Regions from separate parts of the Homo sapiens genome. Here region 2 is linked to region 1. Evidence: promoter capture Hi-C in 16 types of primary human blood cells and fetal thymus (Javierre and others, 2016). All regions are on one chromosome and are shown on one strand. Each heading gives the region's core, a stretch centred on a gene start or on the middle of the fragment in contact. The rest is flanking DNA. Distances are from core to core; before and after follow the strand shown.

Region 1 (2,500 bases), core at 1-2,500:
GGCGTACCTGGACAATATTTTTGATGTGGGGGCGCTGCTGGAGGACACAGAGACCAAGAACGCTGTGCTGGAGCACATGGAGGAACTGCAGGAGCAAGTGGCGCTGGTGAGAGTGGGTCCTGACCCCAGCCCAGCACATCATAGGCCCACAGGGCACACGGGCCACAGGGCCACGCAAGCATGGGCACTGGGCAGCAGACAGTGTTATAATTGTGCATTGGAGGTGCTGCCTGCCTGGCCCCAGAGCCTGGCCTGAATCCAAAGCCTGAATCTGTTGGGTGTCTTTCTCAATGAGTGTGGGTGAGCACCCTCACTGACAGGCCCCTCCTCTACCCAGGCTCAGACCCCAGGTGAACTGAAATGGGTGCCTGGGGCCCCTCCCAGCTCAGTCTCCTCCTCTCCCTCCACCTCCCGCATCACTGGTACCTTGGTTTCCTCTCCTTATTTGCTTGGGTTCGAGTGCCAGGCTCGGCCCACCCTTGGCACCTGGGCTGAGCGGATCTGGGAGCCTCCCCCAGTCTTCCAGGCAGGCATGCCTGATGCCGCCCCCTCACCGGCGGTGCCAGTGCCGGGCTGCGGGTCGGGGCTCACCATGTGCTGGTGCTACAGCTGACAGAGCGGCTTCGGGACGCGGAGAACGAATCCATGGCCAAGATTGCAGAACTGGAAAAACAGCTAAGCCAGGCGCGCAAGGAGTTGGAGACCCTGCGGGTGAGGCTGGGGCGGGTGGTAGGCCAGGCGCCCAAGAACAGGCCAGCTGAGGCTTCTAGGCTTGACATCTCCCTCCACCCCGGGAAGAAGATGGAGGCTTGGTGCCAAGGAGCCTGCTGGTGGGCACTGACCCCTCCCGTGGGGTTCGTAGGAGCGCTTCAGCGAATCGACCGCCATGGGGCCCTCCAGGCGTCCCCCAGAGCCTGAGAAAGCGCCTCCCGCTGCCCCGACGCGGCCCTCGGCCCTGGAGCTGAAGGTGGAGGAGCTGGAGGAGAAGGGGTTAATCCGTATTCTGCGGGGGCCGGGGGATGCTGTCTCCATCGAGATCCTCCCCGTCGCTGTGGCAACTCCGAGCGGCGGTGATGCTCCGACTCCGGGGGTGCCGACCGGCTCCCCCAGCCCAGGTGCGCAGGAGCTTCAGGCTGGCGGGGATGCGGGGCAGGGTCTGGAGGGGAGCCCAGGGGCATCTGTGGCGGGCAGAGTTGGGCGAGGGAGGTTTGGATTGTAGGCTCGGCTCAGGTAGGAGCGCATGCGTAGAGCGGAGAGGCGGAGAGGGGCCCACCCAAGTCAAGGAGCTGACTCGCGCCTCCCCCACGCCGCGCCCTCGCTGGCTCAGATCTCGCACCTGCAGCAGAGCCGGCTCCCGGAGCAGCGCCACCGCCGCCGCCCCCACTGCCCGGCCTCCCCTCCCCGCAGGAAGCCCCGCCCTCTGCGCCCCCACAGGCCCCGCCTCTCCCTGGCAGCCCGGAGCCCCCGCCTGCGCCGCCGCTGCCCGGAGACCTGCCGCCCCCACCCCCGCCACCGCCACCACCTCCGGGCACTGACGGGCCGGTGCCTCCGCCGCCGCCGCCGCCGCCGCCGCCTCCCGGAGGTCCTCCTGATGCCCTAGGAAGACGCGACTCAGAATTGGGCCCAGGTGAGTGGAGTGGACCACCTTGGGCCCGGGGCTGGGGGGAGATGGAGGGAGGGGCCTGGGCCTCAGTGTCCTCCAGGGTCCTCTGCCTGGGGGCCTCCTGCTGCCTCCTGGCTGCCCCATCAGCCCTCCCTGGGCCCAGGTTCCCTCCAGTAGTACCCCCAGTGCTCACCACTGCCCCCAAACCCCCGTCCCAGGAGTGAAGGCCAAGAAGCCCATCCAGACTAAGTTCCGAATGCCACTCTTGAACTGGGTGGCACTGAAACCCAGCCAGATCACCGGCACTGTCTTCACAGAGCTCAATGATGAGAAGGTGCTGCAGGTGAGTGGCCCTGCCTGGCTCCCCATGTGGGCACCGGAGGAAGAGGGGAGTTGCCTGGATCAGGCTGGGCCCTGGGGGTAGTCATTTTCTCCAAGCCATTTCACAGATGAGGAGGGGGAGGCCCAGGGATGGGCATTAAGCCAGACTGGACCAATACCTCTAACAGGCAGAATCCTGCTTTCCCAAACGCCTTCCCCTCCATCCCTGCAGAGGGGTGCCTCCCCTCACCCCACTTCTTCTGCCTCCAGGCCTCTTTCCTTCCACTTTCCCACAGGCAGCCAAGGCTTCAGCCCTCCTGATTCCACTTCCAGTTTTCCAAAAGGATGTATTCTCTTGCCTCTAGGCCATTGTTCCATTCTGTTTCCTCTGCCTGGAATGTCTTTTCCTTTCTCCTTTTTACCGCTGGCCAGTTCAGCTCTTCCTTTAGCTCTTGTGGCCCCAAGTCTGGATCCCCCGGGTTAGGCGGCCCTCCTCCTCCAGGCTCCCTGTGCTTCCCCTGTGCCTCCCATCAGGGCCTGTGGTCAGGCTGGGTTACTGGTTCTCTGCTGGTGGCC
Region 2 (4,657 bases), core at 1,085-3,584, 180 kb before region 1:
GTAATCCCAGCACTTTGGGAGGCCGAGGCGGGCAGATCACGAGGTCAGGAGATCGAGCCCACCCTGGCTAACACGGTGAAACCCCGTCTCTACTAAAAATACAAAAAATTAGCCGGGTGAGGTGGCGGGCACCTGTAGTCCCAGCTACTTGGGAGGCTGAGGTAGGAGAATGGCGTGAACCCGGGAGGCAGAGCTTGCAGTGAGCCAAAATCGCGCCACTGCAATCCAGCCTGGGCGACAGAGCAAGAGAGCGAGACTCCGTCTCAGAAAAAAAAAAGAAAGAAAGAGTTGACTATATTTAGTTCTGTGTTTTATTTGTGTTTTCTTTCCCTGAGTCAGATGGGAACTGTTTCTTCCCGCCCTGCCATTCTTCCCATGTTGAGATCTTTCCCAAAGGCAAAGATCATTTCCCTTTTTGGCCATGGAGCACTCTGATGGTAAGAATTAGTCCTCTCATCACCCACCACACTCAACCCGAATAGGAAATTTCCAAGAATGGGAACCATGTCTTTGGGCACTTAGGCGAGATTACTCAATCAAAAGAGTGAGACTCAGGGACTGAAACATTCAATCAAGGTTAAAAACAGATTAAAATGTGGCAGTTACCTTTTTTCCCCTGATATAGAATACGCACTGGAGTCACAGTTACCTTTTAGTAACTGATTTCCTTGAGTGAATAGTGTATCAGAAAATGGGACTTTTATGGTGGCAAAGAATTCAGAGGGCCTGGGGCACACAGATCTGGATTTGTATACCGATTTGCCACTTAACCAGCTATGTGACTGTGCAATTTACCAACCTCTCAGGGCCACATTTTTTCATCTGTCAAAAAGGTCAATATGGCCAGGTACGGTGGCTCACACCTCTAATCCCAGCACTTTGGGAGGCCGAAATGGGCAGATCACGAGGTCAGGAGTTCGAGACCAGCCTGACCAACATGGTGAAACCCCGTCTCTACTAAAAATACAAAAATTAGCCAGGTGTGGTGGCGTGCGCCTTTAATCCCAGCTACTCAGGAGGCCGAGGCAAGAGAATCGCTTGAACCCAGGAGGCGAAGGTTGCAGTGAGCCGAGATCGCACCACTGCACTCCAGCCTGGGAGTCAGAGAGAGACTCCGTCTCAAAACAAAACAAAACAAAACAAAGGTTGAATAATAATAATAGGACCTATATTGTAGACTTGTTGAGAGGATTAAATGAGATAATGTACGAAATGCCTTACTACAGAGTCTGGCACTTATTAAAGAAAGAGTTGATGTGGGCTGGGTGCCGTGGCTCACGTCTGTAATCCCAGCACTTTGCGGGGTTGGGGTAGGAAGATCCTTAGAGGCCAGGAGTTCGAGACCAGCCTGGGCAACAAGGCGAGACCCTCGTCTCTACAAAAAATATATAAATTATCCGGGTGTGGTGGCTCATGCCTATAGTCCTAGGTACTTGGGAGGCTGAGGTGGGAGGATACCTTGATTGCAGTGAGCTGTGATCTTGAGCCATTGCGCTCCAGCCTGGGCGACAGAAGGCGGCCGTATTTAAAAAAGAAAAAAGAAAGAAAGAAAGAAAAGAAAAGAAAAAAAGGGTCGTTGTGGAAAATTCTTGTGGGGAATTAAAGGGACCACGTGTGCGCGAAAGAGCTTGGCGAAGATAAGTACCTGGAGGCCAAGATGAGGCGGCGAGCCCTGCCTCCCTAGCAGTGTGGTCTCCTGGCTTAGGGTCAGTGCTTCGCACAAAAAAATCCACTGCCTCTCATGAGACCTTGAACTGCCAATGACCGCAGGTTGCCCAGACTCCCGAGTGAGGAAGGCGGCCAGGAGTCAACTAGGCTTCTTGCGGAAAAGCCCACTCTAAGAAGGCCTGGGGCATTCCGGCTCCAGGCAGGTAGCACCCGCGGGCCTCAGGCCCTTTCACTTACCCGGGAAACGTAACGGTCCTTAACGGCAGCCAATAACGGCTCCCAGCGGCCCAGGCACTGGCAAGGGCAGGCTGAAATCAAACCTCGGATTTTGGAACCTCCACGCCTGAAACCCTAAACCAGCATCGAACTACAACTCCCATCATGCCAGGCGGCCGCCCGGTTCCCAAGGGTCGGTCCCACCAACCTTGCGCCCCTTCTTTCCTCAAAGCGTGGCCGAATGCCTAGGCTTCCGGGTATCAGTGGCCCCGCCTCTTAATCCGACCGGAGCCGTCCCTCGTGATTCCTGGGTATTGTAGTCAGTTTCCTGGGAAAGAGTCGCTCCTAGTGGCAGCTCGCTTCGCCAGAAAAACTACAAAACCCAGAATGCAGCGCAAATTCCCCTTGTCCAATAGGAACCCCCCATGTAGTGGGGCGCGGAGCCCTGCTCTCGCAACTCAAGATGGCGGACGAGAGTGAGACAGCAGTGAAGCCGCCGGCACCTCCGCTGCCGCAGATGATGGAAGGGAACGGGAACGGCCATGAGCACTGCAGCGATTGCGAGAATGAGGAGGACAACAGCTACAACCGGGGGTAACGAAATCCTCGGAGTCCAATTCCCGTCCAGCCTCCCACAACCTGGGTCTCTGGGGTGCGGGGAAGTCACCGGGAGCTTAGTCTAGCCCCACCCTCATGTTCTTATTGGCTAAGTCACTAGGATTCTGCCTGGCGATTGGTTATTGCCTTTGTCATTTACCAAGGGTGGGTGCTCTGGATATTAAGGGCCGGAGACGTTCAGTACTTTTATTATATAAAAGTTCTATGCAGTGTTCCACTCGTGTGCTTCAGGCCATTCCTGGGAAAAGAGCATGTTGGACGATGGTTTTCGATGGTACAACACAGGACAGTCTAGTAACAGTACAGTTCAAAGGGAACGTTACTTATAGACGTGTTGTTTGAACAACGTGACTAGCAATAAACGAATCATAAAACATTTCGCAGCAGTTCACCCTCAGTGAGGAAACTCATCAGACTATACAAACTGTATGTATAATTATATTGTAAAATATCACTACCAGAGAATCCCAAAATATAAACTCACCTTATAAACCTATGTAATTAACGGTATGGTAATGCTTTGATTTACATAGTTTCCATTGCTCCAAATAATCCATAAGTATCCTGAACGATATATTAATATAATTAAGTCTTCGAACATCTTTGCCTTGTTACCTTTGCAGAGCAGCCCCAGGCTTCAAGAAATGAGCGATGTTGTTTCTTGGAGAGTATTTGGAATCCTCGGGCTCCATACTGCCTATCCTGTACTTTAGGGTCTTGCCATTAGTTACTATTTGTTCCTAGGGATGAAGAAACACACCAGGCATTTGAATGTTGAATTCTTTTCCCAAATTAGTTTTTACTTCTGTAAGCCACAGCTTATTCATCTTTCTTCACATGGTTAGTGCCTGGCACTGGCACTCACGCTGTCTCTCCCCATCTTCCTGTCTATATTTGTAGATATATTTTTAAACTGAAAGTCGTGAGAGATTTTTGGGTGTATAACTTGCTGAGTCTGAGGTAGTCTGATTTTCGTAGCCAGCTTGTTATTCGCAGTATTGGTGGCAGTGCAGATATAAAGGTATAAAGACCAAGGACTGCGTAGAAGAGATGGTCCCACAAGATTATAGTACATATTTTTATTGTATCCTTTCTATGTTTAGGTATGCTTAGATACACAAATACTTACCATTGTATTATAGTTGCCTGCAGTACTCAGTAACATGCAGCAGCCTATTGCTCCTAGGCTACAAACCTGTATAGCATGTTACTGTAATGTACACCATATAGCCTAGGCATTTAGTAGGCTATACCATCTAGATTTGTGTAAGTACACCCTATAATGTTGGCAAGGCAAAAATCACCTAACCATGCATTTCCCAGCACATATGCCTGACGTTCAGTGAAGCATGACTGTATTTAAGTGGTTTATAATCTGCTTGTGGTAAATCTTAGGTTAAAAGATCTAGCTTTTATGTTCTTCAGCCGGCATTAAAAATCACAGGAAGGGCCGGGCATGGTGGCTCATGCCTGTAATCCCAGTACTTTGGGAGGCAGATCACGAGGTCAGGAGATCGAGACCATCCTGGCTAACACTGTGAAATCCCATCTCTACTAAAAATACAAAAAATTTAGCCGGGCGTGGTGGCGGGCGCCTGTAGTCCCAACTACTCGGGAGGCTAAGGCAGGAGAATGGCGTGAACCCAGGAGGCAGAGCTTGCAGTGAGCTGAGATCACGCCACTGCACTCCAGCCTGGGCGACAGAGCGAGACTCCGACTCAAAAAAAAAAAAAAAAAAAAAAAATCACAGGAAGAAAGTAGAGGAATAGGAAGCTTGCCAAATTTAGTTTTTATAAGACTGTTCTGTTGCTGTAACTCACAACAGATCTAATGTAATAAAAGTCTTCTTTTGAAGTTTGATATTCCTAAAAATGGAAGAGCTGAGAAAGAGGAAGTAGGAACAGGAAGAAGGGAAAGTGAAGCTCTCCTGAGTAGAGATCTGAATCACAGATGAGAGTTGGTGAATGTGAAAGTCATTCCAGAAGTGAAAGTGTGGCATTTTCTTTGCTCTTTTTGTAGTTGCTTTTATTTTTATCTTCTTAACTGTTGTCCTGACCAGTGTCCTTAGGTTTGTGCCCTATAATCTGTGAATCACTTTTCAAAACTGTGTGCCAGAAAGTTATTTTATTGGCCTGGCGTGGTAGCTCACACCTGT

The links. Contacts are between HindIII fragments. The CHiCAGO score rates a contact against its expected background, and 5 or more counts as called.
Region 2: a contact is called between the fragment with the promoter of NMT1 here and the fragment with the promoter of FMNL1-AS1 in region 1, in 1 of 17 cell types (neutrophils). The highest score is 5.4, in neutrophils.

Annotation. Positions count from the first base shown.
Region 1 is chr17:45,240,520-45,243,019 of GRCh38, forward strand. It overlaps FMNL1-AS1 (FMNL1 antisense RNA 1), which reads right to left and starts at 1,251. Exons shown (of 3, transcript NR_186808.1): 1 at 592-1,251; 2 at 1-85. It overlaps FMNL1 (formin like 1), which reads left to right. Exons shown (of 27, transcript NM_005892.4): 12 at 1-106; 13 at 610-711; 14 at 863-1,115; 15 at 1,328-1,627; 16 at 1,822-1,946. RefSeq lists an enhancer at 643-1,361. The HindIII fragment of the contact is 17,531 bases long and covers 1-2,500 here.
Region 2 is chr17:45,058,983-45,063,639 of GRCh38, forward strand. NMT1 (N-myristoyltransferase 1) reads left to right here and starts at 2,335. Exons shown (of 12, transcript NM_021079.5): 1 at 2,335-2,478. The coding sequence starts at 2,348. It also overlaps a transcript of DCAKD not described here. RefSeq lists enhancers at 1,115-2,106, 1,966-2,145, 2,107-3,098, 2,246-2,605, 2,459-2,753 and 1 more. The HindIII fragment of the contact is 9,198 bases long and covers 1-4,273 here.